Linked DNA regions of Homo sapiens: regions 2, 3 and 4 are each linked to region 1. Evidence: promoter capture Hi-C in 16 types of primary human blood cells and fetal thymus (Javierre and others, 2016). All regions are on one chromosome and are shown on one strand. Each heading gives the region's core, a stretch centred on a gene start or on the middle of the fragment in contact. The rest is flanking DNA. Distances are from core to core; before and after follow the strand shown. Region 1 holds the start of COXFA4L3 (cytochrome c oxidase associated subunit FA4L3). Region 2 overlaps DUOX2 (dual oxidase 2). Region 3 holds the start of LOC124900365 (small nucleolar RNA SNORD71). Region 4 overlaps DUOX1 (dual oxidase 1).

Evidence for each region. Contacts are between HindIII fragments. The CHiCAGO score rates a contact against its expected background, and 5 or more counts as called.
Region 2: a contact is called between a fragment that was not itself captured here and the fragment with the promoter of COXFA4L3 in region 1, in 4 of 17 cell types (fetal thymus, naive CD8 T cells, non-activated CD4 T cells and 1 more). The highest score is 6.0, in fetal thymus.
Region 3: a contact is called between a fragment that was not itself captured here and the fragment with the promoter of COXFA4L3 in region 1, in 1 of 17 cell types (monocytes). The highest score is 5.7, in monocytes.
Region 4: a fragment that was not itself captured here is called in contact with the fragment with the promoter of COXFA4L3 in region 1 in 17 of 17 cell types (M2 macrophages, monocytes, erythroblasts and 14 more); the score reaches 19.8 in M2 macrophages.

The regions. Positions count from the first base shown.
Region 1 is chr15:45,426,804-45,433,357 of GRCh38, reverse strand. It overlaps COXFA4L3 (cytochrome c oxidase associated subunit FA4L3), which reads right to left and starts at 2,748. Exons shown (of 5, transcript NM_197955.3): 1 at 2,703-2,748; 2 at 2,526-2,588; 3 at 2,272-2,357; 4 at 1,226-1,286; 5 at 18-410. The coding sequence starts at 2,561. The coding sequence ends at 342. MIR147B (microRNA 147b) reads right to left here and starts at 308; the gene lies at 229-308. RefSeq lists a silencer at 2,726-2,805. The HindIII fragment of the contact is 4,531 bases long and covers 1,965-6,495 here.
Region 2 is chr15:45,103,558-45,110,111 of GRCh38, reverse strand. It overlaps DUOX2 (dual oxidase 2), which reads left to right. Exons shown (of 34, transcript NM_001363711.2): 10 at 132-222; 11 at 486-588; 12 at 1,160-1,323; 13 at 1,890-2,065; 14 at 2,649-2,767; 15 at 3,143-3,280; 16 at 3,471-3,584; 17 at 3,785-3,987; 18 at 4,284-4,469; 19 at 5,747-5,972; 20 at 6,059-6,152. Among named protein-coding and RNA genes, the nearest start is that of DUOX2, 7.3 kb to the left of the region's middle. The HindIII fragment of the contact is 3,201 bases long and covers 1,361-4,561 here.
Region 3 is chr15:45,707,655-45,714,208 of GRCh38, reverse strand. The region is part of intron 1 of LOC105370802 (a long non-coding RNA gene); the gene reads right to left. LOC124900365 (small nucleolar RNA SNORD71) reads right to left here and starts at 3,394; the gene lies at 3,336-3,394. The HindIII fragment of the contact is 2,001 bases long and covers 1,295-3,295 here.
Region 4 is chr15:45,154,070-45,160,623 of GRCh38, reverse strand. It overlaps DUOX1 (dual oxidase 1), which reads right to left. Exons shown (of 34, transcript NM_175940.3): 28 at 4,695-4,822. Among named protein-coding and RNA genes, the nearest start is that of DUOX1, 27 kb to the right of the region's middle. The HindIII fragment of the contact is 2,638 bases long and covers 1,598-4,235 here.

The DNA.
Region 1 (6,554 bases), core at 1,499-3,998:
TAAATATATACCTAATCTTTGAGAAATCTTGCACAAATGGCATTTTATTAAAGAAAATCTAATTTACAAAGCTTTGTAAATTTTAAGAAAAACATTCATAGATCATAAACAAAAATTTCAATATGCAATATTCAAATTTACAAGAAAATAAGCACAAACTTTTAGACAGTGCAGTTATTGCTGCACTCCTTTAATTCCTTATCCAGAGCCCAAAAAATGTAGACAAACCCTAAAAATGTAGCAGAAGCATTTCCGCACACTGGTGTCCAGAATCTAGTTTGTGCAGAAATGTTTCCACTAGATTTATAGAGTACTCTTCAGAAGAAAGAGGCGAGGGCTCGTCATTTGGTCACCCTTTGGACATTTTGCAACTCTTCAATGGGTTTCCATTGTTGGTTGATTGTTATAAGCTGAAGAGAAAAAAGGAAAAAAAAAAAACCTTTTGTTAAAAATTTGACTTTCATTTGCATGTCCCTCTTTCGGATTTGTCCACACTCCCCTTTAGAAAAAGCATCACCATTGTGTTTGTACCTACCTCTTTCCATATCTAAAACATGCACAAAATAGTAATGTGAGCTGGTTTCTATCAGTCCATCTTTTTACAAAGCCCTTGGGCTCCTAAGTGTTATGAGATCAGAGGGAAAGATCAAACACATGTGCCCTACTTTCACTTAGCAGTATCCAGATTTTTTTTTAAGACAGTCTTGCTGTGTTGCCCAGGCTGGAGTGCAGTGGCACAACTGCAACTCACTGCAGCCTCCGCCTCCCATGTTCAAGCAATTTTCGTGCCTCAGCCTCTCCAGTAGCTGGGTTTACAGGTGCGTTCTACTACACCCAGCTAATTTTTGTATTTTTAGTAAAGATGGAATTTCACCATGTTGGCCAAGCTGGTCTCGAACTCCTGACTTCAAGTGATCCACCCGCCTCGGCCTCCCAAAGTGTTGGCATTACAGGTGTGAGACACCGTGCCTGGCCGGTATCCAGATTTTTAAGTTTGCCAGGTATTATGTGAGCCATAGTTCCAAAAGTGTATATGCTTCTCATGAGTGGATGGACAATGCTCCTGGCATAGAGTAGGCTCTTAAAATTTCCTCATTTTAATTACTCGATGAAGGCACAATTGATCTAAGTTACACAATAAGGGTAAGGTACTAAATCTATTTTGCTCACAAAGGTGCTAAGGTTTGGGCAAAATATAAATCATTTGTTTTTAATTTAACAATACCTTTTGAGGTACAGTAGGGTCCACAGTTTCCCAAGGTTCTGGATTTTTTTTTCGATCAAGGCTAAAATTAAAGAAAGCCAATTAAACATTAAAAGATGTGAATTTAAACCAACACTGATACTGGGTTTATAAACATGTTAGGGACAAAACCAGTCTCATACTAAGGCATGTGTCTGCTAATGATCAGGAACCATCAGTAGCAACTAAAATTGATTGAAAATTCTCTAAGGGAGTTTCATGGTGTGGCTCAAACATTAAACATCAGTTCCCCTAAAGGGTAGGAGGTCTGTATTCTCTTGATTGGGCTGCATTGGGGAAGGATCCCACAAACCAAATAACCATGGGAGTGAAACTGCCAAGCCAAGGACATGCAATAATGTTCTTATCTCAGTCTGTGGGAGGGGCAGGTTGAACTCTGCAGGTGGTGAACTCCAGGGCTCTAGGCTCCTCTGCCAGCGGTTAGAGGACTGCCCTCTCCAGCCCTGCACCAGCCTCCAACAGTTTCAAGTTTATCTTTTCCTCATATTCCAGGATACATGTTTTTGTTTTTTACTTTCTTCTACCCAAAGTTGAGATTAGGTTCATCGTAGACAACTGAATCTATCAATTCTACCACATTAGTAAAAATCTAATAAGCTAAAATTTAAAATTTTAATTAAAATGATTGTTTCATGATATATATCTCCCAAAACCACTGAAGAACTTTAAATTTCAAAACTTAAAAAAAAAAAAACAAGCTTTACTTCACTGCCAGAGAGTGGAGAAGGGCCAATGGGTAAAAGAATAAACACAAGAAATAAACTAATTTGATTAATATCATGGGTTTTTTTAAATTTTTTCTTTTTTTTTTCTAATTTTCATTTTCTGACCCATTGGTAGACAATATCATAAGAGTTTTCTGATAAAAGATGCTTTTTAACCCTGACTCCCAGTTCACAATTTGGCATTCTCATCCATGGGAAAAAAATAGGAAACTTATACATTTCATAAACTAAAAGTCATCCAAACACTGCCAAAAACGTTTTTATAAATTGAGACCTACTTACATCACATCGGTTTTCCAAAGAGAATACACAGCGAAAGATGAGGCTCCACCCGCCGCCACAGTCATGAACACCACCAAGGGAATGAGCTAACAAATAACAGGTGGAGGGGACACATTTGGACACTTCAATATGAAACATTTGAAACACAGCAAAACAACTGTATTTATTTTATACTTTGTTCAAAATCTGTGCCATCTTTTCATCTTTAAAAATGAAAACTTTAGTCAAGATTTTCAATTGTTTTTAAAACTTACTTCCTTCCTTTTCATCAGGAGTTGGAAAAAGCTCATGATGACTTCAGCGAAGAATTGCCAAATCTAGAAATTAAAAATCCAAAGTATTGATCGCCTGGTGGGCGCCAAACCGTCCACCGCGCTCCGCAGGCCAACTGCGGGCCGGCGCGTCCGCGTCTCTGCAGATGGGAGACTCACCTGGACGCCGGGCGGTGCGCACGGACGATGGTAACGCCCGGAACCGAACGGGCCGGCGGCCTCCCCACCTTATATATAGCGACCACAACCGCCCCGGGTGGGCCGGGCCAGCGCGCTCTGGTCACGCGCGTGGGGCGGGGAGCGCGAGGGACCTGACTCGCTTTCCCCGTTGGGCACGCGACTCCCGGGCGCCCCCTGCAGGACATTCTGCGGCTGACGTGAAGCGCCCGAACGCGGGCGCTGGCGCCCCCTGCCGCTCGCCGCGGTCTTCCTTACCTGCCGACCCCGGTCGCTCTTGGCCCCCCTAGGTGCTTGTGAGGAGTTTGGAGGTTTGGGGAGTAGGAGGTGGAACCCCCTAAGAGGGGAGCGCAGATAGCCGAGGCCTGAGGGAAAGCCAACCCTTCTAAAAGGGTATCCGGGCCTGGCGCGGTGGCTTAGGACTGTAATCCCAACACTTTGGGAGGCTGAGGCAGGAGGATCACTCGAGTCCAGCCTGGCCAACGTGACGAAACCACGTCTCTACTAAAAAAAATTAGCGGGCGTGGTGCTGCATGCCTGCAGTCCCAGCTACTGAGGAGGGCGAGGCAGGAGAATCGCTTGAGTCCAGGCCTTTGAGGTCGCAGTGAGCCAAGATTACACCACTGTATTCCAGCCTGGGCAACAGAGCGAGACCCTGTTTTAAATAAAATAGAATAAAACAAAATATTTAAATAAGCAAATAAACAATAAAAGGGGGTCCGGAAAAATGAGCTGCAGACCGGAGGGTCCCAGGAGAGGCTCCCAGGTGCAGGCGGGTAAATTAGAATTAATCCAATCACATTAAAAGCTCCAAAATGTGGTCTGTGCACCTATGGAGATCATTAAAATTAAATTGTAAAGTTTATTTCAGAATAACTCCCAGGGCGTCCTGACTTTTTCTGCTAAAAAAAAAACCCAAAAAAACAAAAACAAACAAATAAACACAATAAAACAAAAACCCGAGGTCGAGGGAGAACAAACAAAAGAATAAGCTGGGGAGGCTGTCAGGAGAAGGTCTTTCTGCAAACGACCCTGCCGGCTGGTTTAGTCTTTGGGTTCCCTCCTAACTCTCCTCTAAGCCAGCAACCTCACTTTGCAGTTTGCAGGCGGCTGCAATGGTAACAATTTCACAGAGCCAGGGGCTGTGTGTGTGCCAGACACTGAGCCAGATTCCCCTCGGCAAGGTGGGTGCAAAGTCTTATTAAGACTCAGAGAGGCTCTGGTCACGTCACTGGTAAGTGGCGGCGATGCCATCAGAACGCAGGTCTGTCTGGTGCCCAACACCATGGTTCTGTCTGCACCCCTCTGTTAAATACTGCAATAAGTAAAGGACCAGTTATTTTAAAACAAACAGTTTGAAGTTCAAGCTGTAAGTTAAAGTTAAAAGGCAACATCTTAACGTTCCCTGAAATTGGCTAGACCCTGCTGTGTTTCAACCCCATTTTCATTCTAAACCTGGGTTTTGTAGTCAAATGGACCTGAGTTCAGAGCCTGCCCCTGCTATACTTATTATTAATAGCTGACTTTAAGTAAACTACTTAACCTTCATGAGTTTCAGTTTATATATCTGCAAAATGGGGGCAAACCTGGCAGGGGAGAGAGTTGGAAAAAATGTTAGAATATATGTAAAGCATTCTGTCCTGCTTGTAGTAGGCACTCAACAAATAGTTACTATATGCAAAGATTTGGTTTTTTGTTTGTTTTGTTTTTTGAGCCAGAGTCTCGCTCTGTCACCCTGGCTGGAGTGCAGTGGTGTGATCTCGGCTCACTGCAACCTCTGCTTCATGGGCTAAAGCGACTCTCATGCCTCAGTCTCCTGGGCATCTGGGAATACAGGCATGTGCCACCACGCCCCGCTAATTTTTGTATTTTTAGTAGAGACAGGTTTTGCAACGTTGGCCAGGCTAGTTTTGAACTCCTGACCTCAGGTGATCCGCCCCCCTCAGCCTCCTAAAGTGCTGGGATTATGGGTGTGAACCACCACGCCCAGCCTCAAAGATTTGTTTTATGTAAGGCTGATCATAAATGTAGTTTCCCACTCCCTTACTCTGGCAAGCGTTCTTACTGTTTAACCCCAGAACTGTAACTAGAGACATTTGCTAATTGGATGGATCTACGTTATATACTTCAAAGAAAATTCAACATTAATTCTCCTTGGTTTGTATTACCTAGAATCAGAGAAGCCTTTTAATGAAAGACTTCTAAGGCTACTTCTGTCAGAAGATTCTACAAAAAAACCTCATGTTATTAAGAAACAGAAGTTTTTCTAGGATGGAAGGAAGGGAGGGAGAGAGAAAGAGAAACAGGACGAAGAGAGAGAGAAGAAGAAGAAATAAATTTTACATTAGTATTTCATGAGCCCAAAATTGAAATTAAAAATGTGTAGCCATTGCCTATTAATGACCTTAAACACAGAGCCGTGCTTTGCCAGTATCATTTCTTTTCAAAATGTAATGCAGTTTTTTAGTAGTCTAGGCATTATTCTGAGGATGGGGGCATAGCAGAATTAAAAAGAGTAGTAAGACACAAATCACTTACTTCAAGGTGCTTGCAATTTAGTAACTCTAAATAACTCTAATGCAAGGCATGATCTGTTGCCAAGACAGGTGATTAATTCTAACTAAGGGGGTCTGAGAAAACTTACCAAAGGTGGGGTATTTATTTGAATATACAAAAAGACAAATCAACTGTAAAAAGACATTTTGGGGGCAAGTGGGAAACTTAAATAGGATCCAGACATTAGATGATATTAAAGGGATATTGTTAAGTTTCTTAGGTGTGATAATAGTATTGCAGTTTATATATATATATAACTGCAATATATATATAACTGCAATAACTGCAATATATATATATCTCGGCTCACTGCAACCTCTGCCTCCCAGGTTCAAACAATTCTCCTGCCTCAGCTTCCCGAGTAGCTGAGACCATGGGCGCCCGCCACCATGCCCAGCTAATTTTTGTATTTTTAGTAGAGAGGGGGTTTCACCGTGTTGGCCAGGATGGTCTCAATCTCTTGACCTCGTGATCAGCCCGCCTTGGCCTCCCAAAGTGCTGGGATTACAGGTGTGAGCCACCGCGCCTGGCCGGCGATTATATTTTTTAAATGGCCTCTCCCTTTTTCAGAGCTTGTATGTGGAAATATTTAAGGGAGAAATATTATGATGTCTGGGATTTACTTTAAAATATTTCAACTAGGCCAGGTGCGGTGGCTCACGCCTGTAATCCCAGAACTTTGGGAGGCCAAGGTGGGTGGATCACGTAAGGTCAGGAGTTCGAGACCAGCCTGGCCAACATCTCTACTAAAAAATACCGAAAATTAGCCAGGTGTGGTGGTGGGCGCCTGTAATTGCGTAATCCCAGCTACTCCGGGGGCTGAGGAAGGAGAACCACTTAAACCTGGGAGGTGGAGTTTGCAGTGAGTCAAGATAGCGCCATCGCACTCCAGCGTGGGCAACAAGAGCAAAACTCCATCTCAAAAAAAAAACAGAAACAAAAACACTTCAACTAAAAAACAAATTAGGAATATTTTACAAAATAATAATTATTTAACGTAGGTGATAGGTATGTGTGGGTTTGTTGTACTCTTCCTTTTATGTATGTTTGGAAATGTTTAAAATAAAACATTTTTAAAATTCACAAATTATACGTAGTTAGTTACAGATATAATTTGCCCATATAACCTTTAAGATCTTATTCCTATTTGCAGCAATAAAAATTAAACCCAGAAAGCCACACTTTTCTTCCTTTTCATAATGCCTGGGTATATCAAGCTTTTGAGATATCAAAGTCAATATGTAGTTTGGTCTTTCCCTGATTCAAGAATTATAACAC
Region 2 (6,554 bases), core at 1,712-4,211, 320 kb after region 1:
TGCCGTGTTCAAGGAAGTTCCTGGGCCACTGCTCAATCCTAGTGAACCCCCACTGAGTCCCTCAGCCCACTCAACCCCATCTTTGATTCTTCTCCAAATTCCCTCACCACATCCTTTGTTCTCAATTTCAGAAATGCCAGCTGTCATTTCCGGAAGGTCCTGAACAAGGGTTTTCAAAGCTCCCAAGCTCTCAGGGTCTGCAACAACTACTGGATTCGGGAGGTCAGACTGGGGTCAGGGTCAGGGGAAGATGGGTCAAGGTCAGTCTCTTCACACAGGCTGGGAAAAGCAACAATCCCAGTTCTTGAGTGTTGCTGCCCCAGGTTCATGGGAGATGAAGGGTAGAGGAAATTATCCGGGGACAACAGTTCAAGAGAGTCTGGGACTGGCCAAGGGCCCTTTGTCCTGGGGTACTAAAGTGGTCCAGGCTGAGAGAGACCGAGTTTTGGGTAGAGGCCTATCTTGAGTGCATTGTTTACTTCCAGAACCCCAATCTGAACAGTACCCAGGAGGTGAATGAGCTGCTGCTGGGAATGGCCTCCCAGATTTCGGAGTTGGAGGACAACATAGTGGTTGAAGATCTGAGGGGTGAGCTCAGAGCCAGAAGGGGTGGATGGTAAGGGACCAGGAAGCCTGAGGATCCCTCTGGGTTCATCAATAGCAGACCTAGGGCGCTCACGATGCAGGAACACAGATACAAACACAGACTTCAAGGAGCCATAAGAAGAAAATGAACTTTGAACTTTTTTTTTTTTTTTGCTTAATTTACACTTTTGTGTTGCTTTTATTTTAAATTAACTATGTCTGAGTATTGGGGAGGGGTGGTACCACAATCTCTTTGGTGCTTAATTAGGTCTCTAAAGGTTTTCATTCAGCCCTGTCTTGAAACTAGGGAGGCATAGGACAGGGAATTTACTGCTTGGTGACTAGAACAGTCTTGAGTCTTAGAGGAAGGGTCTTACTGGAAAAACTGGCTCTGATCACCCATGGTGACATTGGCCTTGCAGCAAGGCAAGGTCAGCATGGGCACAGATCTCATGTGGATCACTGGGGGTAGCCAGGAGGGAAGAACCGTAGTGCCAATAGTCAGATACAAGGCTGCAGGGCAAAAAAGGATGGAGAGGACAAAGCCCATAGTCTAGTCTTCTCTCCTCTTCAGATTACTGGCCTGGCCCTGGCAAATTCTCCCGTACAGACTATGTGGCCAGCAGCATCCAACGTGGCCGAGATATGGGGCTGCCCAGCTATAGCCAGGCCCTGCTGGCCTTTGGGCTGGACATCCCAAGGAACTGGAGTGATCTCAACCCTAATGTGGACCCCCAGGTCAGGAATAGTAATGATAATAATGGCAGCTAAAGCTTTCCTATGGCAATACTGTTCCAAACCCTTTACATATGTTGACTCATTTAATCTACATAATAATATTGTAAGGTATGTATAATCATTTTCCCCATTTTACTGATGACATAGTTGGTAAATCATAGAGGAGGGACTTAAATTCAGCCATCTGATTCCAGAATATATTCCTAACCACTGCATTGTACCATTCCTGCAGGGTGGCTTCTGGGTTGGGTGCCATTGTCCTGTTGCTGCAGGGTCCCACCCCAAGGGCTGTGTGCCCCTGAAGCTGCTAATCATTGAGGTCAGGCAGGCTGGTGATGGTCACAGGATATGGTCCTAGGGCACCTGACCGTGGTGTTACCGTGGGTAGGGACACACTGATCCTTCCACCAGACTTGTCCTGCCTGAGGGGGCTTGCCTAAGAAGAGGAAATCAGGCCTGAGCAGCAGCCAGGCAGCGGCTGAGGTTCTGTGCCCGAGGGATGGGGCAACAGTGGCTGCCCTCCGCAGCAAACATACGCTCACCCCTTATCTCCTGTGGTGCCCCAGGTGCTGGAGGCCACAGCTGCCCTGTACAACCAGGACCTATCCCAGCTAGAGCTGCTCCTTGGGGGGCTCCTGGAGAGCCATGGGGACCCTGGACCCCTGTTCAGTGCCATTGTCCTCGACCAGTTTGTACGGCTGCGGGATGGTGACCGCTACTGGTTTGAGAACACCAGGAATGGGTAAGGCTTGCCTGGGCCCCCACCTCAGACTGCTCCTCAGCCTGAGCCCCAGACCCTCTGTCTAGCCTTAGACAGCCCCTATGAGCCCTTGATTCCCAGTCAGCCCACCACACCCTTCCCAACCCCTCTGGGTCTCTCTTTTTTTCTTCTCTTCTCTTTTTCTTTTTCTTTTTCTTTTTTTTTTTTTTTTTTTTTTGAGGCAGAGTCTAGCTTTGTCACCCAGGCTGGAGTGCAGTGGCGTGATCTTGGCTCAATGCACCCTCTACCTCCCAGGTTCAAGTGATTCTCCTGCATCAGCCTCCCAAGTAGCTGGGATTACAGGCATGCACCAACATGCCCGGCTAATTTTTTTAAAAAATATTTTTAGTAGAGATGGGGTTTCACTATGCTGGTCAGGCTGGTCTCGAACTCCTGACCTCAAGTGATCCACTCGCCTTGGCCTCCCAAAGTGTTGGGATTACAGGCATGAGCCACTGCACCCAGCCCCTCTGGGTCTCTTTTCTCACCTGGGTCCTTGGGCCTGGGGTTGCTGGAGGCCTGCATCCCCTTCCCATCCCAGTGACTTCTACTTCCTCCAACTTAGGCTGTTCTCCAAGAAGGAGATTGAAGACATCCGAAATACCACCCTGCGGGACGTGCTGGTCGCTGTTATCAACATTGACCCCAGTGCCCTGCAGCCCAATGTCTTTGTCTGGCATAAAGGTGAGTGCCGTGGGAGAACACAAGTGAGTGACAGTGGCCAGAGAAGGATCAAGATTGAGGGTGCGGGGGAATCACTTGGTGCTGTCCAGGGAGCCAGGCACCTTCTGTGTTGGGCTAGGAGGCCTGCATTTGGCTGGCTCCCACAGCAGGGACCTCAACTAGCACACAAGCTACACCCTACAGTCAAGAAGGGGTGGATGGGGTAGATGCCAAGAGACAGGAAATGAATGGGGACTTTTTGAGGGAGACAGTTTCAGGGAGGTGGGCCTGGGGAAGACAGATGATACCTTGGTCCTTTATAGGATAGAGGGGAAAGAGGTCTGGCCACATAGCGGGATCCTCAGACTTTGAGGTCTTCCCTGCCCTCTCCCTCAGGTGCACCCTGCCCTCAACCTAAGCAGCTCACAACTGACGGCCTGCCCCAGTGTGCACCCCTGACTGTGCTTGACTTCTTTGAAGGCAGCAGCCCTGGTTTTGCCATCACCATCATTGCTCTCTGCTGCCTTCCCTTAGGTGAGCTCTTAGGCAGCCTCTCTGCAGACTGGCCCTGCCCCTCATTTCCTGCTGGCCTGAGGGGCTGGCTATTTGGTACCGTTTGAGACCAGGCTCAAGGAACCTCTGGAAGGGAGGGGCCATAGCCTAAGCCACAGTGGAGCTCTAGGTGAGGGGCTCCCTCCTCACTGTTCCTTCTGATCCACTTCAGTGAGTCTGCTTCTCTCTGGAGTGGTGGCCTATTTCCGGGGCCGAGAACACAAGAAGCTACAAAAGAAACTCAAAGAGAGCGTGAAGAAGGAAGCAGCCAAAGATGGAGTGCCAGGTGAGCAGGGGCTGGGCAGAGGAGGGAGGAGGGACGGAGGAGGGGAGAGACAGGAGTCTGGGAGAAAGAACCAAGTTACAGAGTGAGAGGAAAGCCAAGGCACCTTTAGGGCGCCTGCTCAGACTCACAGAGGAATTGACCTGAAGGCGGGGACCTGGGGACATCTGCTGAACTACCCGGCCCAATTATCCCTTCCCCAGCGATGGAGTGGCCAGGCCCCAAGGAGAGGAGCAGTCCCATCATCATCCAGCTGCTGTCAGACAGGTGTCTGCAGGTCCTGAACAGGCATCTCACTGTGCTCCGTGTGGTCCAGCTGCAGCCTCTGCAGCAGGTCAACCTCATCCTGTCCAACAACCGAGGATGCCGCACCCTGCTGCTCAAGATCCCTAAGGAGTATGACCTGGTATGGCTCGTCCTGCCTCCCCAGCCTGGGCTGCCCTCACACGACTCCATTATCACAAGCGAGGCCACCCTATCCTCAGCTACAGAGCTCAACTATGACAGCTGATGCTGGGGAGAGGGGCTCCTTTCAGAGGCCCCCAGACACAACCTGACCCCCTTCGTCCACACACCTGGCCCCAGCCTGGATGGATGGGGAGGAGTTTTCTCTCCTCCCCTCAACCCAAGATCCATTGAGGGGAGGCTGAAGCAGAAGGTCCAGCGAGCTCCCTGCGTCAGTGCCGCCTTCCTCCCACCCAGGTGCTGCTGTTTAGTTCTGAAGAGGAACGGGGCGCCTTTGTGCAGCAGCTATGGGACTTCTGCGTGCGCTGGGCTCTGGGCCTCCATGTGGCTGAGATGAGCGAGAAGGAGCTATTTAGGAAGGCTGTGACAAAGCAGCAGCGGGAACGCATCCTGGAGATCTTCTTCAGACACCTTTTTGCTCAGGTGCCATGACCTGTGCCTTTTGGAGATGGGTCCAGCCCCAGAAATGGAGGAAACCTGGGCTGCATAGAACGCCCCTGTGGGTGAACTAAGCTTCCGCTCTATGGCCTGGAGAGAAATAGCCTTGTTTGAATCCTGGCATTGCCACTTTACTTAGCTCTGTGACCTTAGGCAAGTCACATTATCACTGTTCTGTATCTCTGTTTCCTCATCTATAAAACAGTGATGAAAACTGTATCCATCCCATTGCATTGTTGTGAGGATTCGGTGAGATCGTCTACATGAGTGGTACACAGAGGTTGGCCTCTGGACCCGAGAGCATCAGCCTCACCTGGGAACATGTTAGAAATGCACCTACCCAGTTAGACTGAACCAGGAACTCTGTGGGTGGGGCCTGGCAATCTGTGTTTTAACAAGCTCCCCAGATGATTCAGATACACTCTAATGTTTGAAAAACATTGTTTTATGTACAGTGCTTATTGGCCCAAGTGCCAGGTATGTTGCAGGCATTTAACAAACGGTTGTGGCCAGGCGCAGTGGCTCATGCCTATAATCCCAGCACTTTGGGAGGCTGAGGCGGGCAGATCACCTAAGGTCAGGAGTTCGAGACTAGCATGGCCAACATGGTGAAACCCCATCTCTACTAAAAATACAAAAATTAGCTGGACGTGGTGGCTCACACCTGTAATCCCAGCTACTTGGGAGGCTGAGGCAGGAGAATCGCTTGAACCCGGGTGGCGGAGGTTGCAGTGAGCCAAGATCATGCCACTGCACTCCAGCCTGGGTGACAGAGCAAGACTCCATCTCAAAAAAACAAACAAAAAACAATAAATGGTTGTTACATGCGACTTTTAAACTTTTTGTGCAATGGGCAAATCATAGGCACATGGCAGCCTTATCTGAATTGGCAAGAGAGCACAGCCCCAGCCCCTTCCTGCCTGTCTACCACCATGTCTCTACATCTTCTGTCCCCAGTATAGGCTCTCTCACTTTCCATTCCCCTTAACTTCGCCCTTCCCCTTCCCTACCCCAGCACCATGCCCACTGCATGAAGTTCCCGGTTCTTGGGCCCAGGGAGAAATGGGCAGGCTGCTAGAGATTTGATTCCCCCGTCTATAGGACAACAGAGGCCCCAGTCAGTATATCTAAGGATCAGGAGAACCATCAGAGTTTAGCCTTTCTGATTTGGACTTTGGGGAGATATGAAGGGTCACTGAACTGCTTCCAGCATAGGCTTCACCTCCTTCTCTTTCCCTCCCTCTGCTGCTGCCCGAGTGCAGGTGCTGGACATCAACCAGGCCGACGCAGGGACCCTGCCCCTGGACTCCTCCCAGAAGGTGCGGGAGGCCCTGACCTGCGAGCTGAGCAGGGCCGAGTTTGCCGAGTCCCTGGGCCTCAAGCCCCAGGACATGTTTGTGGAGTCCATGTTCTCTCTGGCTGACAAGGATGGCAATGGCTACCTGTCCTTCCGAGAGTTCCTGGACATCCTGGTGGTCTTCATGAAAGGTAGGGGGCTGGGAGGTGGCAGGCTATCCAAGAATCCAGGGGTCTTTCAGCAAGGAGATGACCTGCATTCCCTTTTTTCTTCCCAGGCTCCCCAGAGGATAAGTCCCGTCTAATGTTTACCATGTATGACCTGGATGAGAATGGCTTCCTCTCCAAGGACGAATTCTTCACCATGATGCGGTATGGGGTGTGCCTTTCTAATCCTGAGACTTCCTGGTGTGTTTCAAACAGGAAAACAGGTCCAGTCAGAGGAGGGCTGGCAAAGAGGCTCTGTGGTCATCTGTGCTGAGAGGTGGCCTAAACACTACATCCTAAACTCTCAGAGCATCCACCTTCAAATATTTACCTGACTGGCTCCTGCCTCTGGGAGAGTCTCTGTCTGGACTGTCAACACCAGCCAGAAAAGCCTCCCTAGTTAAAAAACGAAAAAAAAAAACCCAACACCAATATGGCCAACGACAAAAATCCACTAATCCCTTTTGGATGCCCTTGGATCTTTGTGAACTATTTTACGGCACGCCCAACACCGTGCTCTACCCAGTGAAACAGTGAATGGATGACCTTGGTTGCTGCTCCGCTATT
Region 3 (6,554 bases), core at 1,046-3,545, 280 kb before region 1:
ATCTGCCATCTATGAAATTAGAAAATAAAACCCTAGCTCTAGAATCCTCAAACTTGCAGATGCTGCAGTGGCGTGAGATCATAGCCAAAGGTTCTAGAAAAAGTCACAATCTTTTCACTAACTTCTAAAAGTCCGCCATATTTCCCATCTCTCTCATCTTCACGGGTCCTTTTATTTATGTTTTAATTCAAACTGATCAAGCATCTACTATGTGCTACAGAGATAAGATAGAAAGAGGAATAGATATATATATTATATATAATTATAATATATATAATTTATTATATATATAAATTATAATGCTTCGCAGTATAACTTTATCACTTCAATATAACATGCTGTATATACAGACCCATGTTTTCTACTTGCTTTTTGTTGTTGTTCAGAGAAGGATCACTGGGTCTGGGGCAATCAGAGAAGACGTCATGAGGACTGGAAAACCTTATTTCTTGAAGTTCAAGCTCAAGTATCAACAAGGAAGAAAATGCCAAATAGAAGGAATGATATGAGCGAAGGAGGTGTGAAGGTAGGGAAGTTCTAGATGTGCCCTGTGTAAAATATCGCTTGTGCATCCACACACACAGGTAGAAAGAGAGATAGACACACCCTCAATCACGCACCATTCACTCTATCCCCTTACTCTGCTTTATTCTTTCTCACAACATTTACTATTACCTGATGCATATGTATTTGTGTGATTACTGTCTCTTTCCAGGACAAGCTCCATGACAGCAAGAACTTCATTTCATTCACTGCTCTGTCCTCAGTGCCTAGTTCAGTGCCTGACACATTGCAGCTTCTAGATAAGTATGGAAAGGAGGAAAGGAGGAAGGGAGGAAGGGAGGGATGGAGGGATGGAGGGAGGGAGGGAGGAAAGAAGGAAGGAAGGAAGGAAAAGGAAGGAAAGAAGGAAGGAGGGAAGGAAGGAAGGGAGGGAGGAAGGGAGGGAGGGAGGAAGGAAAAGGAAGGAAGGGAGGGAGGAAGGAAAAGGAAGGAAGGAAGGAAAAGGAAGGAAGGAGGGAAGGAAGGAAGGAAGGAAAAGGAAGGAAGGAGGGAAGGAAAAGGAAGGGAGGGAGGAAGAAAGGAAAAGGAAGGAAGGAAGGGAGGGAGGGAGGGAGGGGAGGGAGGGAGGGAGGGAGGAGAGAAAAAAGAAGGGAGGGAGGGAGGGAGGATGAGAGGATGAGGAGGTGCTCATAACATCCACGGAGAAACACATCAGAGAGTCTTGGGAAACTTGATGGCCAGGGCAAATGGGGACAGAGTGGGGAGCGTCTTGAATGCTGGATGAGAAGCTTGGGTTTTTTCCTGCTTCTTCAAAGATGCCAGCATGGTCAAAAAATAAGGACAGTAGCTATGCTTTTAGAAGATTAATCTGGTGCAAATATTGGATGAATTTTAGGGAAATGAGACTAGAGGTAAAATAGCAGTTACTTTAAAATAGATAATGATAGTGATGGGTTACAGCCATTCAATAAAATGGGAATCAATGAGACCTTAGCGTATAAATAATTAAATAAATAAGTACGAAGTATAAGGTGGGTTTGGAATATCTTGTTTCAGAAAGTAAAGAAGTATTCAAAGATTGATACAGACGTGTCAAAAGGACTTGGGAGCCAGCCTGAAGGGAGTTTCACTGGCCAAATTTGGAAAATTTGACCTTTGAAATAAATAATGATAGTGATGATTTACAATCCATTGGATAAAATGAGAATCTATGAGGCCTTAAAGATATAAATAAACAAGTGGGTGAGAAGGGAAAGCCCTTCCTTACAGTGAATGCCAACTAATAAAAGTAGATAGGATGACAGAAATGGGAGATTATAGATCTTATTCTATGATGTGGCAACCATGATAGAGGAAGATGTCAATAATTGCTAAGGATGGTGGGTAAAGGTTCAGTGAGGAACAGGATATTGGTACAATGCCAGAATATCTCCCTACAAAATACTCATTAATCACAATGGAAAAAACAGTGGCTTTTTGGAGGAGAAATATGACAGAAACCAACTTGACAAAGTGGTCAAGGTAACACCAAGGGAAGAATCTACATTCTGCATCAGGAAGAGCACAGCATAATTTTCTGGAAGTCTTCCAGGAGTGCACGGCTTGAGTCTGGCCATGAGGACACATCGGACAGACCCAGGTCAGCCTTCAAAATCAAAAGTCATGCTATGGTTTGAATGTGTCCCCAGAAGTTTATGTGTTGAAAATATAATTCCCAGTGGGATTATATCTAGACATAGGTTTTTAGGCGGTAACTAAACTTAAATGAGATCATAAGGATGAGGCCCTAATTCAGTAGGACTAGTGGCTCTGTAAGAAGAGCAAGAGAGACCTGAGATGGTATCCACTGGCCCTCTCACCATGTAAATGCCTTCCACCTCCATCAAAAGGGGGCCCTAGACCTCAGACTTCCCAAGACAATGAACCCAAGACATTTCACTATGATTTGTCAAGAGCGAAGATTAAAGAAAAAAGCAGGGGCCAGGCATGGTGGCTCACGCCTGTAATCTCAGCACTTTGGGAAGCCGAGGCAGGTGGATCACTTGAGGTCAGGAGTTCAAGACCAGCCTGACCAACATGGAGAAACCCCGTCTCTACTAAAAATACAAAATTAGCCGGGCGTAGTGGCGCATGCCTGTAATCCCAGCTACTCAGGAGGCTAAGGCAGGAGAATCGCTTGAACCCGGGAGGCAGAGGTTGCGGTGAGCTGAGATCACACCATTGCACTCCAGCCTGGGCAACAAGAGCAAAACTCTTTCTCAAAAAAAAAAGAAAAAAAGAAAAAGAAAAGCAAAGAAAAGAAAAAAGGCCAGGAAGTTAGTAACATTTGTAGATAATCAGTGTTTATCAATGGCTTCACATTGATTTACAGCCCACCTCCCTCAAACTAAAACTTGAGGACTTCTCATGCAAAGCACTGCTTTCATGGAGATAGCATAGGGCATTTAGACCAAAACTTGGATTCTAGCTTTAGCGCCAATGCTTGCCATGTGGCATTACTGTAGTTGCCCCCCAAGCCTCAGTTTCCTTACTTGTAAAATGGATATGACAGTAGCAACTTCAGAGATAAAATATGCATAAACCAATCCCATCTATTTTATAACTAGTGAGTGTCATTGTTCAGAAATCAAACATTTTAGCACTGAAATATGCAGCTGGCTGTAATCGTGGAATGACATTGCTCTGCCTGGTTTTACTGGCTTGAATTTCTGACAGTGCTTCCAGCTGCCTAGTTTTCCATTCGTCCAGTCCTATTGTTTACATGGAATGACACCCAAGATTTCCTGAAGCTTATGGCTTTATTTGCACTTCTGGCTTTGCTGACTCCCCGTCGAGTGCTGTCAGCAAAGTGAGCAAGAGCAGCCCTGGGCTCATCAGCCACCAGCACTCTTGCCTTATTAGGAATGGTGGCCCTGCACAACAGGACCCATGGCGGCCAAGAACACACAACCTTGCTTGCAAGGGAACACCAGACAGATGTAACATGAGGAACGTCCTATTAAAACAACAGGGGGAAGGGAAGTGTCCCTCAATAATGTCAAGGTTATAAAAGACAAAGAAAGGCTGTGGAAATGTTCCAGATGAAGGAAAGCTGAAGAAACAGGACAACTAAATGCAGCCTGACCCTACAGGGGATTCTGTGCTGGAGGGAAAAATGCTGGAAAAAAACATCATTAGACCAACTGATAAAATTGGCATATGAACAGTAGATTAGATAACATATTGTATCAGTGTAAATGTGTGAGGCTGACAACTGTGCTGTGGTTATATAAGAGATCATCCTTTGTGTAGTATTTAGTACTCCTGGTATTATAATTTAGTATTTGGTATAATGTAGTATTGAGGATTAAAGGCCATGATGTCACTCACCTTTAATTCCAAAAAAAAATGGGAATGCATATATAATATACGATAGTATAAATAAATAAATATTTATATATGGATATACATCTGTATCTATATATAAATATGTATGTATATATATTCCACAAATTTAGAGAGATAGGAAGAAAGATAAAGAACATGAACAATAGGGCCGGGTGCAGTAGCTCACGCCTGTAATCCCAGCACTTCGGGAGGCTGAGGTGGGCAGATCACGAGGTCAACAGATCGAGACCATCCAGACCGACATGGTGAAACCTCATCTCTACTAAAAATACAAAAAATTAGCCGGGCGTGGTGGCAGGCGCCTGTAATCCCAGCTACTAGGGAGGCTGAGGCAGGAGAATCGCTTGAACCTGGGAGGCGGAGGTTGCAGTGAGCCGAGATCGCGCCATTGCACTCCAGCCTGGGCAAAAACAGCGAAACTCCATCTCAAAGAAAAAAATAGAACGTGAACAATAAAGCAAATGGGAGTAAAACATTCCAATGCGTGAATCTGAGTAAAAGGTATATAAATGCTCCTTGCACTATTTTATGTTTGCAATTTTTGTAAGTTTGAAGTTATTTCCAAATAAAAAGTGGAGAGAAAAAAGAAAGCAAGAAATGGTCATCCTGCTGCCTGCTGCCTGCTGCTGGGTTCTCAAGGAGCCAATGGACAGGAAGAATTAGGCATTTTTGGGCCTCATCAGTGACTTCCTCTGTGCCTCAACCTCTGTTAACAGTAACAATCACTTGCATAAAAATAGCTAATCCTTTTATAGTGCTCTTGTGCAATTGAGGCACTGTTTTATATACCTTATGTATATTAACTCATTTAATAGTGGTTCACACACGGTGATCCTAGCTGATATGTTGATCCCAGTTCTAATGAGAAAAGAGTATAAATGAGTAAGCCAGTAACTGTGATCCTCACCTCAGCCTGTGACGAAGGGAGGTCACCTTGGGCAAGTGATGGCACCAGGACTCACAACCAGCTCTTCCTCCTCCATGTTTCATCCTCTTTCCCCCCCCCGGTGGTTCTCGACCCTAGGAGAGTACCTGTCATCCCTTAAGAGGCTTTAAAAATACAGATTCCTGCTCTGAGACATCTAGTGTCCCACTGCACACATGCTACCAGGCCTGAACTCCTGCTTCCTCTGGCCTCCTGTTCTCTATGGAAATACCTGCATTCAGAGTCCCTGGATGTCTCTGGGGGCTCTATCTAAGGGACATCTACCACAAGCTGATTCCAGCTGAGGGGACAAAGGCCCACTGGCCATTGCATCCTCCTTTAGGCTGCCAGGCCATGTGGTGCGTGGTGGGTCCAGAGAACCCTGTGCTGGGTGCTAGTATCACACTTTCTCCACTGTGAAATGGGCTCTCATCTGAAAAGCTGTTACATGGAACCCCATGTCAGTAATCAGGTACTCTGTGAACCCTTGGATGATACCAGCAAAGACATAGGAAGGGCAAACTGATGGTATCTGATGGAATCAACTCCAAAAAAGAATCAATCACTGTCCCCTGCAGGGTGAGAAAGGCCTGATGGAATCAACTTGCCAGCAAATGTCTAGCTAGACTCTCCAAGAAGTAGGACCATACCAAGGGGTCATCTTCGTTCTCTGCCATCAACAGGTCGGGTATTCAGCAGTGGCAGTAACTGGATCAGCTTTGGTCAGAGGGGGCCCTTGCTGTTGGCCCTCTACAGAGCCTCTATCCCTACTACCGTAACTCTTCCAGCCATGGGCCCGTGGAGTGAGCATCAGAGGTGTTTGAGCCAGAGCAACTCCATCTTGAATAGGGGCTGGGTAAAATAAGGCTGAGACCTACTGGGCTGCATTCCCAGGAGGTTAGGCATTCTAAGTCACAGGATGAGATAGGAGGTCCACACAAGGTACAGGTCATTAAGACCTTGCTGATACAACAGGTTGCAGTAGAGAAGCTGGTCAAAACCCACTAAAAACAAGATGGCAACAAAAGTGACCTCACTGCTCATTATTCACTAATTATAATGCATTAGCATGCTAAAAGACACTCCCACCAGTGCCATGACAGTTTACAGATGCCATGGCAACGTCAGGAAGTTAACCCATATGGTCTAAAAAGAGGAGGAACCCTCAGTTCTGGGAATTGCCCACCTCTTTCTTGGAAAACTCATGAATAACCTGCCCCTAGTTTAGCATATAATCAAGAAATAACCATAAAAATAGCCAACCAGCAGCCCTCAGGCTGCTCCACCTATGGAGTAGCCATTCTTTATTCCTTTACTTTCCTAATAAACTTGCTTTCACTTTATGGATTAGCCTCGAATTATTTCTTGTGTGAGATCCAAGAACCCTGTCTTGGGATCTAGATCAGGACCCCTTTCTGGTAACATGAGCACTGGAGTGACCAAGGGCAGAGGCTGGCAGGCGTCTACCAGACGAGTCGTCTTGTCCACCCGGTTGTTGAGCGACTCCTCTGCTGTGCTCACCCTCAGCCGGGTATTGATGGCCAGCAGGGAGATCTGAGTGCTCTCTGCCCACTCCTGTAGGTTCATCCACACCTCACCCTGACTCTTGCTCTCAGATCTTCCACTCCTGCTCTTTCCAGACTTGCAACCAAATCAGTCACCACTCCCCAGGAGTCCATGTAAGCGACCTCGGGCCCCTTCTCCCTCCATACAAGATGGACAAACAAGGGTACTGCTC
Region 4 (6,554 bases), core at 1,667-4,166, 270 kb after region 1:
ACACCACCCTAGACCAAGTGATGTCACCTGTCACCTGGACTCATGCAGGAGCCTTCCAGTGGAAGTAGGTCTTCTACTGGTCTTGTCTCACTGTAATTCCTGTCTCTTCAAGGCAGCCAGTGTGACTTTTTAAAGTTCATTTTATCCTGTTCATCCCCAGCTTTAAAAGCTTTGGTGGCCTTCCCATTGCACTACAAGGCCTCACAAGTACTCTTGACTTCTGCCTGCCAGCCGTTCTCCCCTCCCTGTTCCTCAAACACGGCCAGTCCTTTCTGCTTAAGGATCTTTGCATCTCCTGCCTGGAATGCCCTTCTCCTGGTTCTTCCCATGGCTAGCTCCATCTCATTTTTCAGGTCTCAGTAGAAACACCACCTCCTCAGGCCTCCCCTCAGTCCTCTCTACCACATCTGCCTGTTAACTCTCTTAGTGCATGCGTTGTCATCCACAGTACTTTTGTTTTTTGGGGGTTGGGGGGACAGAGTCTCATTCTGTCACCCAGGCTGGAGTGCAATGGCATGATCTTAGCTCACTGCAACCTCCGCCTCCCAGGTTCAAGAGATTCTCCTGCCTCAGCCTCCCGAGTAGCTGGGATTACAGGCACCTGCCACCAAACCCAGATAATTTTTGTATTTTTAGTAGAGATGGGGTTTCACCATGTTGGCCAGGCTGGTCTCGAACTGACCTCGAATGATTTGCCCACCTCGGCCTCCCAAAGTGCTGAGATTACAGGTGTGAGCCACCGCGCGCGGCCAACAGTACTTTTGCTTCCTCATTCATTTACATGTTTACTGTCGTTTTCCCCACTGGACTGAAGGGGTAGGGACTGTTTGCCATTATAAGCTCCTAGCAGTTTCTGCCTGGCATATGATAGGCACACAGTAACTGTTGGGGAAAGGCGCTTCCCCAGTTTATCCTCTCCTTTTCCAGGCTAAGAATACCTAACTAGTCTCCCTTTTCCATGTAATAACTGACAAGTATCATCCAGCTCTGGTCCTTTCCCTAATAAGTTTGTCTAACATGGTCAGACACTACTTGGTCACATTCTTCCCACTTGCTTGCTCCTGAGTCTGGCTCAGTTTGACTTCTGCGTCCACCTCTCCTTAGGACCTTCCCACTGAGGGCCCAGCAGCCCCACAAATGGGTAAAATATATCTTTTCAGGCCATGTTGGCTCCTACTCTTAGAAGCCTGAGGCACTAGTGACCACCTCCTTCTCGCCACTTCTGCAACAATGCTCTACTGGTTCTCCCACTTTGGGCCACTCGCTTTCCATCTCCTCCACTGGCTTAATTCCTTCTGCCACCCCCAGTCATGGGTGTTGCCCAAGCCTGGTTTTGTCACCCTCTGCTCATCTCTTTCTATGCTCCGCCATGTGGCATGGCCTCTCAGCTGAGCCACAGCCCCTCAGTTTCAACTGCAGCTGCCACATGATCACCAGCAGCATGTCCTGCCACCACCTAATGCCCTATGGCCATCTGCAGCCAGCCCTGTCCCCTCTGCCTCCTGAATATCCTATCACCATTCCCACCTCTGCCTGTGCTCATGCCCTTCCTTTTACCTGGATTGCTCTTCAGTTTCCACTCTGCCCTGTCAAAGCTTAGCTTACCTCCCCCAGACCCTTGGCCCAAGTCCAGTCTTCTCCTCAAAGTCTTCCCTAGCCAATTTAGCCCAAGTGAAACTCCCTTCAGTGAACTCCTATAACTTACTGTTTGGAACACTCCGCTCAGCAATTAATCCTATATCAAGTGTTCATTTTGATCATTTCATGCATGTGCCACTTTTTGTCACAGCGAATCCTAAGTTCCTAAGGAAGAGATTAGAGTCTCCCCTTCTGCTGCTGGGCCCTACAGAGAGCTAGTACATAAAAGACCCTCCACAGATACACAGATAGCTGCTTTTTTTTTTTTTTTTTTTTTTTTTTTTTGAGATGGAAGTCTCGCTGTCACCCAGGCTGGAGTGCAGTGGTGTGATCTTGGCTCAATGCAACCTCCACCTCCCTGGTTCAAAAAATTCCCCTGCCTCAGCCTCCCGAGTAGCTGGGATTAGAGGCGCATGCCACCACTCCCGGCTAATTTTTTTGTAGAGACGGGGTTTCACCATGTTGGCCAGACTGGTCTCCAACTCCTGATCTCAGGTAATCCACCCGCCTCAGCCTCCCAAAATGCTGGGATTACAGGTGCGAGCCACTGCACTCGGCCAACAGATAGCTTTTAAACTGAACTCTGGTTCCCCATTCAGGCGTTCCCTTCCCCCAGCTAAGTCTTCCTAGATTCTTGAACCTTTCCCTACAAGACTAACTTAAACCTCTCTGAGCTCTTCTTTGAACTGGCTCTTTCTTCCCCAAGTTCACTGTTTCATTGTGGAGCCCACACCCACCCCTAAGGCTTTCTGAGCATCCAAACAGGCTGAGTACAATGGCAGGGTGACGTCATGCTGCTCTGTTTCTACACCCTATTTTGTGCTGGCTTTCCTTTTAAACCACAAGGCTGCTGCAGATTCCTTGTTGGCTGGTGGGATGGGGTGGTGGCTCAGCCAGCTCAGCCTCTGATGTGCTAGCCCTGCCCTCTTCTGCCTGGATCAGAAGCCTGGCCATCCTTCCCCAGGGTCTAGTCTATACTGGGGTCCTTTACTTGTAATTTATCTTTCTGCTTGAAGTCAAGTGGTCACGCCTGGGACAAGTGGGAACAAAGAGGGTGCTCTTGCCCTGATCTCCCTGAGATGAGATTGTCCCAAACTGCTGGTGAGGATAGCCTAGCATAGAGGCCTCCACCTTTCTTTTTTCCTTTTTTATTTCTTTTTTTTTTTTTAAACAGGCTGTCCATCTGTTGCCCAGGGTAGAGTGTAATGGCATGATCTCGGCTCACTGCAACCTTCACCTCCTGGGTTCAAGCGATTCTCATGCCTCAGCCTCCTGAGTAGCTAGGACTATAGGTGTGCGTCACCACACTCAGCTAATTTTTGTATTTTTAGTAGAGACGAGGTTTCGCCATGTTGACCAGGCTGGTCTTGAGCTCCTGGCCTCAGGTGATCCACCCACCTCGGCATCTCAAAGTGCTGGATTACAGATGTGAGCCACTGTGCCCGGCCACACCTTTCGAACCCCTGACTTTCCTGCTGGCAGGAAGGGTGGCTTGGAATCCTAGTGATGCCTACACCCCAGGACAAATCAGAAAGGGCTCTGGGTCTTAGGGAGCCTGCCTGGCCACTCTTCTGGATCTCTCATCTAGTTCAAAGTAGCTGCTTTATCACCAGGAACAAGAACGTCATTTCCACCCCCAACAGAAGCAGTAGCCGAGAATGCTAGGGCTCCACTCATTATTGGGAAGAGGAGGAGAGAGGGTAAATTAGTCATAGCTTCCAAAGAAAGAGATGTTTCTTAGGAAACGCATATCATCAGTTCTAGGAAACATCCTAAGCCAAGGCTAAGTAGTCATCTTCAGAACTGTGAAATGCTGAGCAACAGGCAAGATGAAACAGACCCTCCTATCTGTCAGTGAGGACAGAACTGCACCTGAGAGAAGGCAGGTCAGATGGCAGGAGCCAACCTGACCGAGGCCATGGTGCAGTTTCTCTTTGTCTCGGCACAAAGGAGAGCCCTGTATGCAGTTCTGCTGCAGGGAACAGCTGGAGCCTTGGGATTTGGTTTAGCTTCTAAGTGAGGCCCTCAGAGTACCCTTTAGGGAATTGCCTCTGCTCATGAGGAAGGCAGACAAGCAGAGCCACAACACAGGGACACAGAATCAGCTCGGGAACTAACCAGCTAGGCAGCCGATGAGAAACCCAGGGGAGGGTGAAGGGAACATGAGAAGGGAGGCAACATGGAGAGAGGGAGGCAGGAGCCAAGGTTAAGGAGAAGGAAAGGGGATAGGTAGAGTCTTAAAAATCTATTTGATTGGCCTGGCGCGGTGGCTCACGCCTGTAATCCCAGCACTTTGGGAGGCCGAGGTGGGTGGATCACGAGGTCAGGAATTCGAGACCAGCCTGGCCAACATGGTGAAACCCTGTCTCTACTAAAGATACAAAAATTAGCCAGGCATGGTGGTGCGTGCCTGTAGTCCCAGCTACTCAGGAGGCTGAGACAGGAGAATTGCTTGAACCCGGAAGGCGGTGGTTGCTGTGAGTTGAGATCATGCCATTGCACTCCAGCCTGGGCGACAGGGCGAGACTCTGTCTCAAAAAATAAAAAATAAAAATTCATTAGATCAACAATCCAACTGAAGTCATTTTGAACAAGCTTATATACTGTACAGGTGGCACTTAGCAGGTGTGACTAATGCCCCCAAAAATAGGATCAGAACAAAAGTGGCAGAACCCATTTAAGATAAGTTTCTTCAAAAAGGGTGATGCTCTCTTGGGTGCAGGTAGTCCACCCAGGAGCCAAAACCAGCCACCCAAAGTGGGGAAAGACTAGCTGGGCAGAAGTGGGGTGGAGGTGTCTGCGAGGAATGGAGATCAGTCTGGCAGGGCTGCTACTGCAAAACCCATGCCAGGGAGCCGAGCTTCCAAGTGCTGCATATTGGGGTCATCCTAATGGAGAGCCCTGTACTATCATCTCCACCTTCAAAGAGGGACGTCGAGAAGTGAAGAGGATGCTTCAAATAGCTAGAAATTGAATGAATGTCCCAGCTCTCCTTGCCTCCCTGGAAATGTCCTGCCCATACCCTCCTGGCCTGGCTCACAGCCAAAAGCCCTCACCAGGACATAGAGCAGGATGTAGAGGTGGTGGGTCAGCCAGAAGCCCCGGAAACTGCGGCGGCGGAAGTGGTGGGAGGCAAAGACATACATGATGGCCAGGATCAGGAGCAGCACAACCCCCGTGAGGCCTGCAAAATGAATATAGGGTGGAAGGCAGAAGATCAGTGCCTTGAAAGGGAACTGTTCTGGAGCTTCCAAGGTCCCCTCTCCACTCCACTGCCCAAGTTGGAGTAAGAATGTCCCAGCATTCTCCTCTGGTCCTCTCCCCCAACACCACTGATCACAGGTACCTTTCATTTCAGCAGACATTGTTCACTTTTCATAGCCCTTGTCACCATGATTTTTTTTTTTTTTTTTTTTGAGATGGAGTCTTGCTCTGTTACCCAGGCTCCCTGGAGTGCATTGGTGCAATCTCGGCTCACTGCAACCTCTGCCTCCCAGGTTCAAATGATTCTTCTGCCTCGGCCTCCTGAGTAGCTGGAACTAAAGGCATGCACCATCATGCCCAGCTAATTTTTTTTATTTTTAGTAGAGACAGGGTTCTGCCATGTTGGCCAGGCTGGTCTTGAACTCCTGGCCTCAGGTGATCCGCCCACCTTGGCCTCCCAAAGTGCTGGGAATACAGGCATGAGCCACCACACCCAGCCAATTTTTCACCAATGTCATTATTTGGTTTTTGTCTGTCACTTTCCTGACTCTCGGGTTCTCAAGAATGAGGAACAGGCTAAGCTAGTTTGCCACTGAATCCTAGTGCCTAGTGCAAGGGCCTGGCACACCGTGGGCCCTATATAAATGTGTGCTGAATGAATGGATGCAGAGGGTGTCCACTCTGGGCCCTCTGGGCCAAACAATGGAAATGACAGGCTGTACTCTCATCGAGTCAAGGTTTGGTCCTTGTCCCTGCACCACTCTTTGTTGGCTGCCACAGCACACAGCATGAGCACTGGCACTGTTAGTGACTGGCCAGGACCACACTGTCCCTGCTCATCACTAGGGTCCCCAAGTACAACCCAGAGTTGGTGGGAGGCCCCTCCTCTCACAGGGGATCCAGGCCATGGGTATACAGGGGGATAATACTGGAGCCAGGGCAGGGCAGAGAGGACAGAGAATGCTCCCTCAAGTGATCAAGGAAGAGAGGCAGAAGTTAAGAAGATTAGAGCCCTGAAGTATAAAAAAGTAAAGGTTAAGAAGGGATCTAACCAAAGCCTGTAAAGTCCTAAAAGGAGAGGAGAGCATAAACACAGCCTTATCCACTAAATCTCAGTGTGCAGGAATTAGCAAGCACCCTCTGAAGTTCAAAGCAGATCATTTTAGGATTAAAAAAAAAAAAAAAACCATGCTGTGTTTCACAGAGAGGAGCCAGTATAGAAATTATGTTACTCCAAGGAAGGAACAGACTGAAAATATAAATAGGTTCAAGAGAATTTGAATAGATTCACAGCTAATAGCTCTAAGATGGGTGATTATAGGGAGTTAGGAATATCCCCCAAACGCTCCTTTCAAGGCATACTGGGTAGGCGCCTCTGTCTGGCTTGACAAAGAGCCTGCTCCTTCCCCCATGCAGCTGGGGCACAGCACTCCTCAAAGCTACTGTTAGGGTATGTGTGTGTATTGGGGGAAGAGGTAGCCAGCCACTCCTATTCCACTGGAACTAGTCCATAGTAGGAGATATTTCTCCTCCTAACCCTACTAGAGAAGGAACTAGCCCAAAGTAGGGGCAGGAACCCAGTTGAGCTCCTGCGAGGAGGGCTGGAATGCAGAGTAGTCTAAGTCTCCTGCCCACCCAGTAGTGTCCTCAGGCCAGAGGACAGAGCCTGGGTCACCGGAAGAGCTGAGTGAGTGAACGTGGGTTGCTCTGGG